6 separate regions of the Homo sapiens genome follow, and regions 1, 3, 4, 5 and 6 are each linked to region 2. Evidence: promoter capture Hi-C in 16 types of primary human blood cells and fetal thymus (Javierre and others, 2016). All regions are on one chromosome and are shown on one strand. Each heading gives the region's core, a stretch centred on a gene start or on the middle of the fragment in contact. The rest is flanking DNA. Distances are from core to core; before and after follow the strand shown.

Region 1 (3,285 bases), core at 469-2,968, 1.4 Mb after region 2:
GCTGAGGTCCTATGTCTAAATGATATTGTATGCCTGGGTGCTAAGGGCCTCTTACCATGTGCTGTTTCATATGAGGGCTAAGGGTCTGTATCCACATAATTCTATTAGGATGTTCGACTCATGTTCCTAACATGTTACATGTATGTGTATGTGTCTACTCTCCCCTTTCCTTCATTTAACTCCTTTTTCTCTATACCTAGACACTCCCTCTCTTGATCTTTCAGGGGCTCCAGCCCCCCTCCCTCCAATGCAAGGCACTCCAGCCAGGATTGGGGTCTCCTAGTATCTTAAGCAAAAATCTAGGTTTACAGAGCCTTGTATGGCTCAAGCACCCTTTCTGGGCAGTTTCTCTGCTGTGTGCCATTCCCCTCCCTCTTCAAGGTCTCTGAGTCAGTTCATCTTCTACGTGCCCCTCCCCTCCTCCTTTCACCATCTCTGGTCCAATTTTTTTGCTGTGTGCCCCTTTACTACCCTCCCCCTTTTTATCATCTGTGATCCTTTTTTTAATGCTATGTTCCTCCTCTTCCCCCTTTCCCATCTGTGGTCCAGTTTTTATGTCCGCCCCCCCTCCACCACCCTTCATCATCTCCAGTCCAGCTTCTCTGCTGTTTTGCCCTCCTCCTTCCATCCCTCTTCCACCCAGTCTAGTCCGTCTTCCGATAGGGGGATCATGCCCACCTCTGGCTCTCCTCCACCCGCTTTACCTTTTCTGTCCCTCCCCCACCTTCCCCTTTCCTGTCACGGGCTTCTGACCTACGGAGTATCGATTAGAAGGATACTGCTTTGACCCAGAAGCCTGGGATATGCTGGATGATGAGGTCTCTGCGCTCCAGGAAGGGTCTTCGCATCTGGATGAACTTGCGCTTGAGACGCAGGAAGGCTTTGCCTGCCTTGATGTTCACTGCCTCCAGATCCAGCTGAATATCCTCCAGTGCCTGCAGGATGCTCTCCATCCTCTCGGCATTTCTCTCTCTGCTTTCCCTCTTCACCTTCCTCTGCTTCCTCCTCCGCCGCCGCCGCCGCCTCCTGCTGCTCCTCATACTCTCCCGCTCATCCTCATCCTCATCCTCCACTATGATGATCGCCTCTTCCTTGCTCTTCGGGTCAACTAACCTCTGGGGCGCCCACCCCACTGCGCTACAGGTTTCTAGGGCCCCCTCTCCACCAAAACTGCTCGACTGTACAACCTGAAAATCGATTTCCAGGCTCCCCCCCGAGGCCTCAGGAGTGGGGAGTGCTTCCAGGCTCTCCGTGGGCGGGGGCGCCTCCCCATACCCCGACTCGATGGTAGAATCCCAGCCGGGACACTCAGCACCGAGCGTGAAGTATGCGCGGATCCCCCCCTCCTCGAGAATGACATAGGGAGGCGGCGGGGGCAGCGCGGGGCCCAGTCCCACCCCCCTCATATCGGCCAGCACCTGTGCCGCCTCCGTTTCCTCCTGGAGCCTCGGGCGCTGCTGGGGTGGAGGCAGCGGCAGTCGGAGGAGCGGCGGCGGCGGCGGCGGCGGGGGCGGGTCGCGCTGTGGAGACTCGGAGCTGCTCAGGCGGCGGGTCTTGGCCGGAGGCCCCTCATCTGGGCGGTCCATGGCGACCGCGTTCGTACAGCTCAGGGGACTCGCACTCGCCCCTTCGCTTTTAGCCGCGTCGCTGCCGCTAGTCGCACCGGTAAGCAGAGCTGAGGAGACTCACGCAACCAGCTCTCCTCACCACCTCGCTCTGGCGTTCCCTCCCACAGCGCCCGCTCTACTCCCTCCGCGCCAATCGCCGAAGCCCCGCCCACTCCTGACGCAGGGGTCCGCTCGGCCTGGCCATTGGCTGCCGGCCGCCGCGGCGGCGATCGCGCTCCCGCGACCCCTGCCCGCTCTCACGCAATCCGCTTGCCAACACCACACATCATCAGTTTCCGATTGGCTCCCCTCGGGCCCGCCAATCAACGGGCTGACTCCCTCAGCGACGGGAGGGAAACTGCAGGGCGATTGGCTGCGAGGAAAGCTGGGGAAGAAGCCCCTCTCCCTCACCCTCTCAGCGTTTTATCCAATGGGAAAAGTACCAGTGGTTCTGAAGACCAAAAAACGAGACGAAAAACAAACGCAGGCGCTGAGCAGGATGTGCTCACATGAAATTGGAAGAGCCTCGTTATCGTTCCCCCCGCCCCCCTCCCCTCAGCAACTACGCACTTTTAAAATCTGCCCCTTCCCCCATTTCCTTCAGCTCCTTCCCCCACCCCCGCTTCTGCCCCTTCCCCCATCCCGGGTCCTGCCCCTTCCCCCATCCCAGCTCCTGCCCCTTCTCCCACCCCCGCTTCTGCCCCTTCTCCCATCCCCCACTGCTGCCCCTTTTTCCATCCCCGCTTCTGCCCCTTCCTCCACTCCCCGTTTCTGTCCCTTCCCCCACCCCCCGTTTCTGCCCCTTCCCCCATCCCCCGCTTCGGCCCCTTCCCCCACCCCACCCCCGCTTCTGCCCCTTCACCCCCCGCTTCTGCCCCTTCCTCCCCCGCTTCTGCCCCTTCCCTCACCCCCCCTTCTGCCCCTTCCCGCATTCCCTGCTTCTGACCCCCATCCCCCAACTGTCTCTTCCCTCACCCCCACTTCTGCCCCTTCCCCTATCCCCCAACTTCTGCCCCTTCCTTCACCCCCCAACCCCACTTCTGCCCCTTCCCTCACCCTCCCGCCCTCCGCTTCTGCCCTTCCCCTATCCCCCAACTTCTGCCCCTTCCCTCACACAACCCCTGCCCCCCGCCCCCCCGCTTCTGCCTCTTTTCCTACCTTCCACTTCTGCCCCTTCCCCCACCCCCCACGTTTGCCCCCTGGGTGAACTCTGCTGTAGCTCCTCGGGGGCTCGGGCTGCCCTACCGCCTGCGCCTGCAATTTAGGCACCCAGGGTGTTTGGTTTGGGGGCCAGGTTTTGACGTGGCGTTTTCCATCTCCGCAAAATGGCTCTACAAATAATAATCACACACACAAAAAAGTAACTTCCTCTGCGTCATAAAAATGATTGTGATTCAGCTCATCTGCTAGAATTTTCTAGCACTTTCTGTCTCTTCATTTCTCCCCCTTTCCATCCTTTCCTCTCCCTTTCCCCAGTGTATGCTGTATTTTAAGATTTTTCTTTTTAAACCAGAGATGGATGGTCTTTTGTGAGGCATGGTGGTGGAGGGCTGGCTTTGGTGCTGGGATTCACATCATGGGTGTGCCCCTCATTTTGTAACCTTAACCAAATCACTGCCCCTCTCTGAGCTTCAGTTTTCTCTCCCCTAAATTAGGCATCCCTCAAGAGAGGTGTAGG
Region 2 (3,161 bases), core at 248-2,747:
GTACAGGATCGATATGCCTGATTCCACAACTATGCAGCTTTGAATAAGCGGGTCTGCACCTTACCTGCAGTGAGCTATTCTGGACCCTTCTATGGAAGGTGGACTGTGACAACTTTCATCTTTTATGCTGGTTGAAGTCAGCGGCACACTAACACTGAAAGAAATAGGGGCTCTGGTTCTCTGCATGGGTGGTGTGTGGAGGGGGCTGGCAATGCAGCTATAAATTAATAGATCAGCCCTAATACTTGGGGGTGGGGGCGTCTGTGATTCTACCCTGGGTGGAGAGAAACAGATCTGAGCTCCACTACCTTGGGTAAAGGGGAGAGACCATACGCACTGAACTGCCAGGTAATCAGCGATGTCACTCCCTCTCAACATTACAGGGAGGGAGACCTGCATATCTGCTCCTGTGGGGTATCTCCCTTGCTACATTTAGTGATTCTAAATCTTTGGGGGAGGTAGGGGGAGGTAGGGGGATGATCTGTGTCTACCTCAAAGGGAGAGGAACACATCTGAGCCCCTCTACCCCCACGGCCCCTCAAGGGGCAGACCTGACTGTCTCTTCATGGATTAAGGTCTGTTCCTGTTTGCTTCGAAGCATGTTGGGTGCTTCGAAAAATTACACATTCGGTAAAACGGGGGCTACGGAAGTAGGGATCAGGTCTGATTCTCCACAATGGGGACTCACTCTAACCTAAGAGGAGGGGGCAATTGGCTTAGTTGTCCATAAGCTGAGGCCTGTAACTGCAACCACTTTGGGGACGGGTGAGTTGGGGAGCGATACTGAGGGCTCTGAGTCTACGCGTATGGGGAGGAGGTGCCCTCCCTCTGTATATTAAATGTTTCTAAGCTCCTCTATGCTGGTATGGGGGCAGATACATCAAAGCCTCTGTCTGTCCTGAGGAGGTGCCTCGAGACGGCTGTCTAGAGCCAAGCCAAGGAAGTGCCTTAAGTCGGGAGAAGTCTGCGCTGCTCAGCTGGGTGGAGGGAGATGTCTCTACACGGTTGGGGTGGATGTCCCCCATGCCTTTGGTGGGTCGACTCCTGTCTATACAAGGTGAATGCAGAATGAAGCCTCACTATCTTGAGGACGATCAACGCTTCACCACACAAGTGAAGTTTGTGCCTCTCTACACAGTGTGTCCCGGGTCTACACCTTTCTAGGTGGGATGGGGCAATGCCCCTCTCCCGGCAAACTCCACTCCGCGAAAAGGCAATTCGGCGCGTCTCCACGTGTGCCGCGATCCCTGCCCCTCTTCCGGTCCCTTCTACCCTGGAAGGGATCCTGCTGTTTACCTCTCTATTCCAGGTTGGCGGGCATCTCTGGTTTCACATCCAATAGACGATCCTAACTGCCCGGCCGTCTAGGTGAGCGCACATTGTGAGAAAAGAGGAGAGAAGTTTCTTACTTACACTTCCGGCGGGGATCTGAGAAGCGAGGGCAACACGACAACTCGGTTGAGCGAGCAGAAACTCTCGCGCAGCTAGGCTCCGACTTCCGGATCCCAGGCCGGCGGCGCCCGACTCCGCCCACCGTGCGGTCTCCGCGGGGGGGGGGGGGGGGGGGCGGAGCTTCTGACTGACAGCTCACGCCCGCCCGTCCCTTCTTCGCGACCACGCTGGCCCCGCCTCCTGCCTGCCCCGTAGTTAAGGAAATAGCGGAGGAGGGAGAAGGAGGACGGGGAAATGACCGGGAAGAAGCGGCGGGTCGACTGGTGCGGCCATATACCTTACTTGCAAGCCAAAATTTTGTCTGCGGGCATCTGTCTGGGGTTAAATATGCGTGCTCCCAAATCTCAATAACCAGGCAGTCACCACGCCCGAATCAGACAAGGGTGGGGGATGGTGTCTTTGTCTGCCTGGAAGATGGCGACAGCAGGGTGTGAGAAAATGGCCGCCTGGGTCACGTGTCTGGCCGAGTATTTCCCCACCTGAAGTGAATTGGTTAGCTATTCCCAACCACCTTCCCGGGTCCTTGAGCCCCAGACCATCCCTGAGCACTCCTAGCTTTTTCTGCATACGTTCAGATCTATGGCCATACCCAACCCGAGCTGGAGCAGGAGCCAGAACGACTAGAAGCCTCTCCCACACTAGAAGCCTCTCCCACCCTTTTGCCTTCTTCCCCTCCTACTCCATCCTTCCCTCAATCCCGGAGCAGCGTCTGCAGAAGGGAATGAATTTATATCTCTGGAGTGGGGCAAGTAGGGGTTTCTGAAGCCATCTCAAGGAGCTGGCTGGGAAGTGAGGTCTCCCCCACAAAATAGTAAATATTAGTCTGCAAATGTTTTCTTCTTGATGGTTTAATTCCAGCCCCTCCTCTTCCTCAAGCCTAAACCCTGGGGTGGGGCACAGAGTAGGTGGAACTCTGTGCCTCCGAGGGTGGGTTTGTTTCTCCACTTCAAGCACAGACGGGCTGAAAATGACTCCATCTGTCCCTTTATCCCTTACATAAACAGGACTCACTACCTCTCTACATCGTTGGAGGGCTTCTAACCTCTCATCCTAGAGACACATGAAATTCCTCTGGACCTGAAACCAGCCCTGACCACTTTCACCTTTCCCCCTGCATTTGCAATTTTGCTCTGTTTCTCTAAGACCTAACTCTTGTCACTTCGATGAAACCTTCTCTGACTTTCGCAGATGAGTTAGAAACCCAGAGCACCTTACCTATACAGCTAAGCTAGCACTTATCACAATACTGTAGTTGTTTATGTGACTGTGTCTCCACAGGAGGGTGAACTCCCTGAGAGCAGGGGCCATGTATCTTCAAGCTTTCAACAACACCCAGCACAAGACTGGTATGAGGCAGGCTTCAACAACTGTTTGTTAAATGGGTGAGTTTACAGGCCTGCACCACAAAAAATGGGAAATGGGCTGTTTAGTAGATGGCATTGGGAAATTTGGCTCTCCATGAAAAGAAATATAAAACTGGATCTCTATTTATTCCACCTAAGAGGGTAGACTGTGAATGTGAAAGGTAAAACTATGAAGTTAATATATGCAGGAGAATATCTTTGTGACTTGTGACTGGGGAAGGACTTTTTAAACAAAATCCCAAATGCACAAGATATAAGGGAAAAAATACAATGAAATCTTGTGGAAACTAGTTATTACGACTTTGGAAAACAATTAGGAAGTATCCAGAATAGCTGAAGATGACC
Region 3 (3,122 bases), core at 26-2,525, 1.2 Mb after region 2:
AGAGAAAGTGTGGTGCCATGGAAGGACTTTGTGTAACTCTAGGCAAATCACTTCACTTTCAGAGCCTCAGTTTTCTCAAGTAGTAAATAGGAATAAAACTGTATTTTCTGATGCATGAGATTCATGTTGCCAGCCCCCTACCTCCCTCAAAAAAATTGTATCAGAAAATTTCCTGGCTGCCTGGCATACCGTACATCAAGGTCCTGATCAGGCTGGAAAGCTGAGAATGGAAAATAATACATGAGACTGCCCTGCCCCCTAGAGGCGGAATGTGGCAAACACACAACAATGCAAAGACCGATGCATCGCATCCCTTTCAAAACAAAGATGACAAGCCAGAGCTACACGGCTGATCAGGATTATTCCTCCAACATTTTAGATGTAAATGTATCACTATCATCACCTAATAGGTACCATTTCACTAATGTTTCACTAGTGCATTTCGTTGGAGCGATGTGATTTTTATACCTTTTTAAAGGAGTGATAGGACTGCATATCCAGGCCCTGTGATTTCCTGCTGGATTCCAGGATACAGCATACTGCATTCACCTGAATAAAACCAATATTTTCCTTCATATAACCACTTTAGAATTATTGTCATTATATCTGTGATGAAAAGTACCTAACTTGGCTCTTCCCCCACATTTTCTTATAAATCTGAGAGGCATCTCTCACAACTGTATATCTGATATGCCAGCCAATTCATAAACAACCCATCTCATTGTGATGGTTGTGAAAATTAAATAAGATGACGTAGGTGAAGCGCTGAGCACACAGTATGTGTTTACTCAGCGATAGCCATTATTATTAATAATAACTCTGTAAAGCTCTGTGCTGTGGGAGGACAGGAGGAGAAACCATGTGGCAGCTCACCACATTTCAGAGAGAGAGGTCAGTCCAGTGAACATTGCATGCCAGGATGTGCCATGCCTTGTGCCATCACAGGCAGAGAATTCTATGATTAGTATATAGTTCCTGGCTTCAAGGTGCTCATAATTGGGTGGAGAAGGTGGTGGTGGAAATAGACGATTGCAGTGTGCTATCCAGTGTGTCATGCCAGAGGGGAGCACAGGGGGCCACAGGTGCTCAAAGGAGAGACATCACCCTGGACTGTCAGGGAAGGCTTACTGGAGGAGGTGATACCTGAGCTGAGGCTTGGAGGATGAGTTTGAGTTAGCTAGGTGAAGAAGGACAGCATGTGGGTTGGTGGGAATTGGGGGCAAAAGGGAGGTTAAGGCAGAGGGGCCAGCATGAGCAAACACACAGAGGTATGGGCCCAGCAGGATATGTGTATGGGGAGGTTTTTTGTTTGTTTGTTTTGTTTTTTTATGAGTTCAGTACAAACTAGAGCACAAACAGAGAGACTCGCAGGGGAGTCTGGAGGGTTGGCCGGCTCACATCTTGAGGACACTTCACTAGCAGCGTCAGGAGCTTTCTGCTGTTTTGTTTTTGTGTTGTTTTTGTTTTTATTTTTTTGAGACGGAGTTTTGCTCTTTCGCCCAGGCTGGAGTGAAGTGGCGTGATCTCAGCTCACTGCAGCCTCTTCCCCGCCCCAGGTTCAAGCAATTCTCCTGCCTCAGCCTCCCGAGTAGCTGGGATTACAGGCGTGTGCCACTATGCCTGGCTAATTTTTGTATTTTTAGTAGAGACAGGGTTTTGCCATATTGGCCAGGCTGGTCTCAAACTCCTGACCTCAGGTGAGCCACCTGCCCTGGCCTCCCAAAGTACTAGGATTACAGGCATGAGCCACCATGCCTGGCCAAGTAGCATTTTAAACTGGGGGAGAGGTGCTTATTGTGGTGTGGGAGAACATGTCAAGAGCCACGTTTTGGAGAGATCCCCCTAGAGGGCAGTTTGGAAGATAGATTGGAGGGTATCCAGGGAGGAGGCTGGTACAGCAGTCTAGATGAGAGATGATCAGGCCTGTGCTTGGGCAGTGGGAGTAGAGATAACCTATGTGGGGAGAAAGATGATGATGGAGGGGAGCGCAGCCTGCTCTGGAAGCTCAGAGGAGTGGCAGCGTTCATGACCAGTAGGGTTTTAATAATACCAGCATAGAAATCAAGAAATCACAAGTTGGAAGGACTCTGACAAATCATCCAACTGAAGCTATTCATTTTACAGATGAAAAGACTGAGGCCCAGAGAGAGAAAGGACTTGTATAAGGCCAGTCAGGGTGTGAGCAGAAAAGAGAACGCTGATTAGAAGAGTCACCCTAGTATGAATGCCAGCATTCAGAGCATCTTTTCTTTTCTTTTCTTTTTTTTTTTTTTGAGATGGAGTCTCTCGTTCTGTCACCCAGGCTGGAGTGCAATGGCGCGATCTCGGCTCACTGCAACCTCCGCCTCCTGGGTTCAAGGGATTCTCCTGCCTCAGCCTCCCGAGTAGCTGGGATTACAGGCATGCACCACCACACCCAGCTAATTTTGTATTTTTAGTAGAGACAGGGTTTCTCCATGTTGGTCAGGCTAGTCTCGAACTCCCGACCTCAGGTGATCCGCCCACCTCGGCCTCCCAAAATGTTGGGATTACAGGTGTGAGCCACTGCGCCCAGTGCATCTTTTCTTAAATGTGCTGTTCTCTTTCTCCCCCTAGCTCAGGCCCAGCCTTCTTTCTGCTGTTTTTTGTCTTACGTGGCTTCATTTACTGTAACTGAGGCAGCTCAGAGGCAGTTTCTGGCCTGACAGCCAGGTCTCTCATCCCTGTTTTTCTGTTTTCATGGAAGAGGGTGGACCTGTGTCTGTCTTTAGTATATCCCCATTACCTTGGGCTGGGCAGCTCTACCCCGGGTGTCTTTGTTTTGAGGCTCGATGATATGATACATAAAGAACGAGCTTTGGAGACAGACAGACCTGGATTTGAATCTATGTTCCACCCCAACCCGCAGGATGGCCTCAGCTAGGTCATTTTACCTTTTCTGAATTTTAGTTTTTCTGTAAAATGGGATAACAATGCCTATTATGCCTATTTCTCAAGTTTTTTGTTTGTTTGTTTGCTTGCTTGCTTGTTTTGAGACAGGGTCTCTTTCTATCAGCCAGGCTGGAGAACAGTGGTGCGATCACAGCTCACTGCAGCCTCGACATCCTGGGTTCAAGTGATCCTCCTACCTCAGCCTCCCAAGT
Region 4 (3,142 bases), core at 339-2,838, 1.3 Mb after region 2:
GCACTTTCACCCTTTAGCCACCATGGAACAAGTTTGGTGGTACATAAGGAGGTGCATGTGCCTTTTTGGAGCTTGCTTTCTCTGAAACATGCCTAGAGCTTAGATATAATTCTGAAATCTGCAGAGGATCTTCACTGGTCCCCTCATTAAGTCTACCCCTCTGGGGTAAGTGGACTGTGCAGTTATTTTCCTTTTATAATTATTAGTAAAAGGAAAAAGGAGTCCACAGTGGAACTGATTTGCTCAAGGCAGCATAGCAAATCAGTAGCAGAGGGAGAGCCAAAGCTCAAATTATTTGGCACCAAAATATCTTGATGCTTGCTGTGTGTCCTAACTCCTCTGAGCCTCTGTTTCCTCATCTGTATAGGAGATGATAATACTCACATGACCTTGTCAGGGAGATTAGAGGACATATCTAAAGCTTTTGGCAGTTGTGACCCTCTCTATTGGGACCTTGGGCTTCTCTGATTGACTGGAAGGTGACAAATGAGAGAGAGGTGGCTGGGTGCAGTGGTGCAGTGGCTTGTGCCTGTGATCCCAGCTCTTTGGGAGGCCGAAGTGGATGGATTGCTTGAGCTTAGGAGTTTGAGACCAGCCTGGTAACATGGTGAAACTTCATTGCTACAAAAAATACAAAATTAGCCGGGCGTGGTGGCGTGCGCCTATAGTTCCAGCTACTCAGGAGGCTGAGGCAGGAGGATCACTTGAGCCCAGGAGGTCAAGTCTACAGTCAGCCGTGATTGCACCACTCCATTCCAGCTTGGGCGACAGAGCAAGACCGTCTCAAAAAAACAAAAACGAAAGAAATGAGAGTGAGGTGGGGCTAAGCACTGCCTAGAGTCTGGGATCCGGTTCATTGGGAGAAACCCTGGGTAGTGAAAGTGTGGAGTGCTGTATTCCTCTGTTCTCCCCTAAGACTGGACCCAAAGATAGTGGTCAGTGGGAGGGGGTGGCCAGCCTCTTTGAGCCATTTCTTCTTCAGGCCCAGACGAGAGTGAAACTGAACTACTTGGACCAGATTGCCAAATTCTGGGAAATCCAGGGCTCCTCCTTAAAGATTCCCAATGTAGAACGGCGGATCTTGGACCTCTACAGTCTCAGCAAAGTAAGAACAGGTTTTTGTCAAGCACCCCTCCCACCAAACCCCAATATCCTTGATACTCTGGGGGCCCCCTTAGTTTGGATATTAGATCTTTAGGCTGCAATGGAAGGGGCACAGCTTGGTAGCACACAAGCTGTCATCAGAACATCTTGGAATCTTTTGCTGCAATTTGAGGTTGGGATAAGGGGATAGCCCCCAGTGAAGTGAGGGACTAGAGTTGCCCTCATTGCCCTTTTGCCCTTTCTACAGGCCTACTCCCTCACATATAAATACACGTGGCACATCCATGTCTTTTCCTACTTGTTTTTTCAGATTGTGGTGGAGGAAGGTGGTTATGAAGCTATCTGCAAGGACCGTCGGTGGGCTCGGGTAGCCCAGCGCCTCAACTATCCACCAGGCAAAAATATTGGCTCCTTGCTACGCTCCCACTACGAACGCATTGTTTATCCCTATGAAATGTACCAGTCTGGAGCCAACCTTGTGGTAAGGATGTCACAGTGGGGCAGGGTGCGGCTTTACCCTTCAGCACAGATTTCCACACTTGCTCTTAATGAAACTGGTTTAGTGGACTGGAGACCTGGGAGTTGGACTCTGCTCTTTCCTAGTGATGCTTATTCTCTTTCTACACTGCTCAGGGTCAGAGGTCCTGGAGTTATCTGTACGGCTAGCTTATTTGTTATGTGACAAAGTTTTAACTGATAGAGAAATCAGAGAAGGGAGAGCTTGGGCTAGAAGGTGTGGGAAGAGATGGCGTCTGATTTAGTTGGGGAGATGGTTGGTGGAGGAAGTGACTGGAAGGGAGGAGTGATACAAGCAAAGGTACTGAGAATTCCCAAAATGTGTGCTGGTGTCAGTGCTAAAGACCAGTGGAACAGGGGCTGTTGGTGTGGGTCAGGTGAGTGGACCACAGCTTTGGATGCCATTGGGTGAGGGTAGAGGGAAGTTATTGCTTTTGCGGGCTGGAGTCCATGTCCTGACCCTTACCCCTTACCTGTCCCCAGCAGTGTAACACACGTCCATTTGATAATGAGGAGAAGGACAAGGAATACAAACCCCACAGCATCCCCCTACGACAGTCTGTGCAGCCTTCCAAGTTCAACAGCTATGGCCGGCGGGCCAAGAGACTGCAGCCTGATGTGAGTACTCCCCTTCTTCGAACTTAGAGCTTTGAGGTGGAGGGAGTCCTCTCCTTCCTTCTGGCTAAGGCTGTGTTCCCTGTTCCATTATCCCTTCTTTTGTTCTCTGAGTTCTTCTGAGCATTAGTGTGCCTCTCTCTGGCTTCACTCTTGCTTTTTTCTCCCCTCTCAGCTGAGCTGCTGAGCTGGGTCTTGATCTGTTTGTGCAACCTCTTTTGTATGTCTGCTCTTCTTGCCTGTTTTGTTCCTTTCCGGACTTACTCTGCTCATAGAAGTAGAACTCTTCTTTCTCTTTATACCTGTATCTTTTGTTTTGTTTTGTTTTGAGGCATAGGGTCTTGCTATGTCGCCCAGACTGGAGTACAGTGGCTATTCACAGGCTTGATCATAATGCACTATAATCTTGAACTCCTAGGCTTGAGTGATCCTCTCACCTCAGCCTCTGGAGTAGCTAGGACTACAGGTGTGTACCACTGTTCCCAGCTCCTTGTAGCTATGTCTTCAGGCAGAAGCTTATGTGCCAGGCATTCTTGGCACTGGGAATACAATAGAGAACAAGATGGACACTGTCCCTGGGCTCATCGAAGCATGTAATTTAGCAGATCCTATTAGACTGCCATTTGTTGGTAATGCCAAACACTGTTAGCTTTTTCATATGTATTGTCCCTAACCCCCCTCATAACTATAAGGGAGGAGGTAATATTCTCATTTTACAGTTGGGAAAACTGAGATATCCTGTCTTTTATTCCTTTCTGAGAGAGGGCCGAGGGGGCAGCTCACCTACCCTCAGTCTCCAAAAAGCAACTCTGAGTTCTTGGCTTAGCCCATCTGTGCCTCAGCCCTCAGCATGAGATCAGGTGATATGTAGTCCGAGTTACTGTTCTTTTAGGATGGGACAGTCTGC
Region 5 (2,930 bases), core at 86-2,585, 1.5 Mb after region 2:
ACACCATTATGCGAGATACCATAGGGGAAGGGAGCTTCTATTTTGTAAGAATACAAATGCTGTGTGTGGAGGGACAATAAAGCCCACCCCCGCCCACCAACGAAATCAGCCCCACCTTTCGACAGTAGGGCGGGCGCGGCGGCGAGCGCCCCAGGCGGCAATCCGTCCTCCTGGTTTCCACCCAGGCCCAAGCTGACACCCATTCTCCGACTTCTCGGAGACCCCTCTAGTCCCATTTTTGGCCACGCCCGTCTCCGTTCTACAGATCTGAATAAATTAGGAACCTGCAAAGGGGCAGTCGATCGGTTGTGGGACGATCAAGGCAGGAAGGCATCAAGGACCGCTCTGGGAAGCTCACCTAGAGAGTGCGGCTCTTACAGAGTACAGCGGGATGCACTCGTAGAGCCGGGTCCCTGGGTCTTCGCGCTCGCGCACGGTCAGGCACAGTGGCTGATGGGCGGAAGTTCGTAAAGCGGAGCCTGGGCTTTAAGGACTGGATGACCAGTGGGATCCAGTCTTCAAGACTTGGACTGTTGTTCAGTATGAGGCTAAAGATGCTTCCCAAGTCACAGGCAGGGCTTAAGTGAGACCACTCGCAAGGGGTCATCTGGCGCTCAGTGCGCAGGGCTCTAAGTTTTAGGTCATCACAGATCTGACTTGCAGTGTCCCAAGCACTTCTTTCTTATGTGCCATCTCATTTAATCCCCACTAGCACCTTTGGAAGAAAGCCCTGTCACCTCTGTCGCTGATGAGGACACTGGAGCGCCAAGAAGGCAGATCCCTGGCTGGGGCCCTCCAACCAGGGTGGGGCAGAGCTGGGGCCAGATGACAATTCCCGGAGGACCGCAGTTGGGACACTCCCAGCGCTCATGCTGCCCCTGTCCCTCCCAGGGTCCCTTCTCTGTCCTCACAGACCCAGCTGGGCAGTGTCCTCCCATCTCCTGAGGTGACACTCACCCCAGCGCCTCCTTCAGGAATCCCACCCCGCCCCCTCCAGCCCTAGGCGAATTGCCCTGGACTCTCAGTCTGGGTCTGGAGTTTCATCTGGATCTGGGAGACATTTCCAGTTCTGCCCTAACAGGGATGTTGTGACAGAAACCTGTGTGGGGGCAGGAGAGATATCTGTCCTGCAAAATGGTCTGCACTTTCAGGAAGTGCAGGGAGGGTCCTGAGGGGGTCCTCTGAGGTAGGCCTAGGTGCCGGGTGAGAGGACCGAAGTGGGCGTGAGAGGGTATAACTGAGGCCCCATGACTAGGGCTGGGGTAGGGAGGTAGAGGTCCGTGGTGGAAGGGGAGCCCTGGTGGCTCACAAGGGTGGGGAGCTGGGGAGAGAGAGGAGGTGTGGCAGCTGCCAATTGGAGAGGAAGTTTGGGAGAAAGGACCAGAATGCTCAGAAGGGCCATAATGGGGGTTGCCATTGGCAGTGTGAAGGGAGGACCTCTACTCTCTCTCCAAGATCCAGTTCCCCACAGTGGGTGCTGAGAGATGGCAAAGATAACGGGGTCTAGGGGTCTCCTACTGTGTTCTGGGATTTACCCTGAAGCCCCCATGGGGCAAGATACAAAAGTCACCAGGACCAAAGGTGATCAGGGTTGGTCAGACGATGGCCATTCCTGGGAGCCAGATATGAGAGCTTACTCTCTGATCCCCTCAGTCCCAGAGGGTCCTTCCCCATCCCTGGTGTGAACCTGCCTTCCTCATGACAACAACGGTGGTGACTGCAGACTGTGGGGAACTACAAGATCCAAGGCCTCCCCATAACAGTGTTGGATGGCACAGAGATTCAGCATCACACAGCAGCCCTGAGCTGATTCTTTGTGGGTATGTGTACCAGGGTGTAGCTGGTAAGCTCTTTGTGGGTTGGTGTGTGAGGTCCTTGAGTTATTGTGAGCTGTTACCTTGAGGTAGGAATTCTCTGAGCTGGTTGGGGGTCTGTGTCCTGAGGTGTGGCATCTTTGAGCTGTTTGGTGGTTGGTGTCTAGGGTGAGAGGTCTCTGAACTGCTTGTGGGCACTGTCCTAAGGCATGAGATCTTTGAACATTTTTGTGGGAGGTCTTTGTCCAGAAGGTTAGGTCTCCGAGCTGCTCATATATCAGGATATTTTTGTGAGGAAGGCAGGATGGTCCTTTCTCTCACAGGGGTAGAACAAGGTGCCCTGGTATCAGAGAGATGAAAACATAGGATCCTTATCCTTAGGGAGGGCAAGTCCTCAGTGTAGCATGTAGGAGCCAGTGGTACAAATACTAATGACAATGTCTGCAGACATTAACCCCATCCTTGCTCAGGGCCGACCCCTGTGACAAACCCATGTAACCCATGTTAACTCAATCTGCCAAATTGCCAATGAGGAGCTCACCATTTGCAGATGAGGAGGCTGAAGCCAAGTGAGGGTAGGGCCTGTGCTCACACAGTCCTCATGAAGAGGGAGGAACTGGCTGTAACTTGGACTCACTGGAGGAGACAGGGAAAGGCTCAGGCACAGCCGGGGTCAATGGGAGATGACAAGGAAAGGGGAAAGGAAGAGGTTTGCCCAGGGCCTCAAGGGCCCCATCACTGACTCACTGGTGGGAGGTCTGCCTCTCTGTCTCTCTGTCGCACACCCTGCTTGGTAATGGATGTTGAGAATGCAATCCTCACGTTACCTGTGGAAGTGGTGGCATGAGGTAAAGAGTGGGGAAATACCACAGATTCATCCATTGGCATGAGGTCCACCAGCAAATGTAGAGATTCCTACCTCTTCTTCCCCCTTGAAAGAATTTTTTTCAGGCCAGGCATGGTGGCTCACGCCTGTAATCCCAGCACTTTTGGGAGGCCGAGGCAGGCAGATGGCTTGAGCCCAGGAGTTCAAAACCAGCTTGGGCAACATGGCAAAACCCTGTCTTTACAAAACATATAAAAAAAAATCAGGCCGGGCATGGTGGCTCATGCCTG
Region 6 (3,036 bases), core at 528-3,027, 1.2 Mb before region 2:
GGGGAGGGATGAAGAAGAAAAGGGGGAGAAGTGGGGAGATGGGAAAGAGGGAAGGAATAGAGGGGTAAGGAGAAGAGGAAAAAGGAGGAAGAGGGGTAGAAGGAAGGGAATGGAAGAAAGGTAGTGGAAAAGGATTGAGAAACTAAATCAAATAAGCATAGATTCCAAATAATGGTGAATAGGGCCAATGTGCAGTGCATTCCTATTGTAAATCAAAAATAAAATACCAAGGTTCCTCAACCATTTGAATGTGCTTTCTCCTCGGCCAGGGCACTCTTTAAAAATGTATCCTGAGTGACTTTCTGGCCATGACAGGAAGTAGGGGTCAAACATGCCTCATTATATTTCTCCAGCTTTAACATCAACACAGACCTTTAAATCTGATAAGAAGCATTTACATTCTATTCTTTCTGAACCTGCAGGCTTCCTGCATGATTAAACTTTAGTCTCCACAACCTCTTATCTTAACCCAAACATTCCTTTCTATTGATCCTAGGTCTTTAAACTCAACCAATTGTCAACCAGAAATTTTTTCAATCTACCTATAAGCTGGAAGCCCCCCTCCCACCCCCACTCCGAGTTGTCCCACCTTTCTGGGCCAAACCCATATATTTCTTACATGTATTTGACTGAAGTCCCTTGTCTCCCTAAAATGTATAAAACCAAGCTGCACCGCAGCCACCTTGGGCACTTGTTTTCAGGATCTCCTGAGGACTGTATCACAGGCCATGGTCACTCCTATTTGGCTCAGAATAAATCTCATCAAATGTTTTCCAGAGTTTGACTCTTTGTTGACACTATATAGTCCAGCAGTTCAGATTCTGGTTTCTACCCAGGTACCTTTGGCTGCTTATTTTTCACATTTTTATTCTTAAAAAAAAAAAAACCCTTACATACATAGGAAGCGGAGGTCACTTTTTATTTTTGTTGAATTAATTTTTAAACATTTAATTATAGGTTCTTTTCAGAAAGTGTGAACTAAGCTCTATTACTCACACATTCATTCAACAAATGTTTATTGAGCAGCCTTTCGGTGCCAGGAACTGTGTTGGACAGCAGGGATACAAACATCACTCTATTTCAGGTTCCACTGCCTGTCAGATGCTTCTGTCTTAACACCTCAGCTCCACTATACTCACACAAACATCAGCATTCCCTTTGTCTAGATCCCAACACATATATTTTTTTAACCATCCATCTCAGCAAGAAAAAGTAATACAGGCCCCCAACAAATCCTTTAATAAGTTTCATTTTATGCCCTAAATTCAATCTAGTTACCTGTATCTGCAAACATACTCCTGAGTCTCCAATACTCAAACTGTCACTCATAAGTTGCCTGCCCTTCTCCTCCTCCACCTTTCCCTTCTTCCTCTTTTTCCATAGCTCACTGCTACTTCCCAGAGCTCCTTAAGTTTACTCCTACATACTGCTAGCAGCTCTTTTCTCCCCATTCCCACATCATGGCTTAAAATATCACAAAATGTTCTATTTAACAAGATTTAACGACTTGATTGATGAAAACTTAATGTGGGGACTTTCAGTTTCCAATCCTACATATAAGGAGCTTAAAAGTCACCACTCCATGTTAACAATAAGTAAAAAACTGAACAAACTGAAAAATCAACAATTAGTCTTAATTCCTTTAGAGAAGTGAGGCCACAGGACACACAGCTGCTGCCAGAATTGGGGAGAGAGGCAAATACAGATAATGACAAGTTTCCAGACCAAAATTCCATGAGCAGAAGCCTCCATGGGAGCCATTACCTAGGTAGAAAAACCTGAACTGTCAGAGGTATTTGAACCAGAGCAACTCCATCTTTAGTAGGGGCTGGGTAGAATAAGGCTGAGACCTGCTGGGCTGCATTCCCAGACAATTAAGGCATTCTAAGTTACAGGATGAGATACAAGGTCAGCACAAGATACAGGTCATAAAGACCTTGCTGATAAAACAGGTGGCATTAAAGAAGCCGGTTAAAACTCACCAAAACAAAGATGGTGACGAGAGTGACCTCTGGTTGCCCTCACTGCTACACCAACCAGCACCATGACAGTTTACAAATGGCATGGCAATGTCAGGAAGTTACTCTATAAGGTCTAAACAGGGGATGCATGAATAATCCACCCCTTGTTTAGCATATCATCAAGAAATAACCATAAAAATGGGCAACCAGTGCCCCTTGGGACTGCTCTGTCTATGGAGTAGCCGTTCTTTTATTACTTTACTTTCCTAATATCTTGCTTTCACTTTATGGACTTGTCCTGAATTTTTTCTTACAACCACCAAAGGGACTATACTGCAGAAACACCTAACCCAAAGACTAACTTTGGGTAAGTGGTGGGGTCTAGTAACATCTTTTTGACAAACCTCGAAGGGACAATACTGAAGAAACAACCCGACCAAAAGGAAATAAACTGCAGCACTGATTGTCCCATTTTGGGTAAGTGGTGGGGTACCCAGGTAAAGGACGCGATTGGGTTAGAGGCCCAATTTAGAGGAGTTAAAGTCTCTCATAAGACAGAGTGGGTTAGAGGCCCCTCTTAATAAAAGGCAAGGACACTTGACCAACCTTGGGTTAGAGGCCCAACTTAGGAAAATTAGGTTCCCTTCTAAGACTTAGGGGGTTAGAGGCTCCTCTCAGTAAATTCCCTTTTGGCTAAGAATGAGTTTGGCACTACAGGATGTTAACTGCTATTATCTTTGGAATAATCTGCCTTGCACCCTTTGCTGTGGGTGACAGGATTAGGCATGTACAGGATAGTGGGATATGGGGGGCTTTTTTCTCCCCAAAAACGAGAAAGTTGAGAGCTGATGGGACTGCTGGAAAATATGCCTTCACAACTGAAAAGCGCCCATCTGAACTTTTGATTCAGTGTGGCTGCAGGGGGTGGGTCTTTTGCTTTACCTCCCTGAGTTCTTCACCTTCCCCACCCTGCCACAGGCAATGCTTTTCTTTCTCTCCCTTCTCTTTCCTATCTTTTCTATTACTCAGGGTGACCATCTTGCCCAGAGACCACAAGTTGAAACTCCTGGTCAGA

Evidence for each region. The method cuts DNA at HindIII sites, captures the fragments that hold promoters and counts their contacts. A CHiCAGO score of 5 or more calls a contact.
Region 1: the fragment with the promoter of TSPYL2 here is called in contact with the fragment with the promoter of GNL3L in region 2 in 1 of 17 cell types (neutrophils); the score reaches 7.4 in neutrophils.
Region 3: a contact is called between a fragment that was not itself captured here and the fragment with the promoter of GNL3L in region 2, in 1 of 17 cell types (neutrophils). The highest score is 7.4, in neutrophils.
Region 4: a fragment that was not itself captured here is called in contact with the fragment with the promoter of GNL3L in region 2 in 1 of 17 cell types (neutrophils); the score reaches 9.1 in neutrophils.
Region 5: a fragment that was not itself captured here is called in contact with the fragment with the promoter of GNL3L in region 2 in 4 of 17 cell types (neutrophils, monocytes, non-activated CD4 T cells and 1 more); the score reaches 14.8 in neutrophils.
Region 6: a fragment that was not itself captured here is called in contact with the fragment with the promoter of GNL3L in region 2 in 1 of 17 cell types (neutrophils); the score reaches 7.3 in neutrophils.

Annotation. Positions count from the first base shown.
Region 1 is chrX:53,080,800-53,084,084 of GRCh38, reverse strand. It overlaps TSPYL2 (TSPY like 2), which reads right to left and starts at 1,718. Exons shown (of 7, transcript NM_022117.4): 1 at 780-1,718. The coding sequence starts at 1,586. RefSeq lists silencers at 1,344-1,393, 1,424-1,473, 1,744-1,853. The HindIII fragment of the contact is 18,116 bases long and covers 1-3,285 here.
Region 2 is chrX:54,528,555-54,531,715 of GRCh38, reverse strand. It overlaps GNL3L (G protein nucleolar 3 like), which reads right to left and starts at 1,497. Exons shown (of 16, transcript NM_001184819.2): 1 at 1,297-1,497. RefSeq lists enhancers at 1,092-1,351, 1,362-1,421, 1,872-1,921, 1,576-2,096. The HindIII fragment of the contact is 4,164 bases long and covers 1-2,773 here.
Region 3 is chrX:53,310,273-53,313,394 of GRCh38, reverse strand. All of the region lies in intron 1 of IQSEC2 (IQ motif and Sec7 domain ArfGEF 2), which reads left to right. Among named protein-coding and RNA genes, the nearest start is that of IQSEC2, 9.5 kb to the left of the region's middle. The HindIII fragment of the contact is 4,367 bases long and covers 1-3,122 here.
Region 4 is chrX:53,216,239-53,219,380 of GRCh38, reverse strand. It overlaps KDM5C (lysine demethylase 5C), which reads left to right. Exons shown (of 26, transcript NM_004187.5): 3 at 983-1,105; 4 at 1,415-1,585; 5 at 2,104-2,238. Among named protein-coding and RNA genes, the nearest start is that of KDM5C, 7.4 kb to the left of the region's middle. The HindIII fragment of the contact is 2,329 bases long and covers 424-2,752 here.
Region 5 is chrX:52,998,075-53,001,004 of GRCh38, reverse strand. No RefSeq gene overlaps it. Among named protein-coding and RNA genes, the nearest start is that of FAM156A, 41 kb to the right of the region's middle. The HindIII fragment of the contact is 8,235 bases long and covers 1-2,930 here.
Region 6 is chrX:55,711,159-55,714,194 of GRCh38, reverse strand. No RefSeq gene overlaps it. Among named protein-coding and RNA genes, the nearest start is that of RRAGB, 5.1 kb to the left of the region's middle. The HindIII fragment of the contact is 3,713 bases long and covers 1-3,036 here.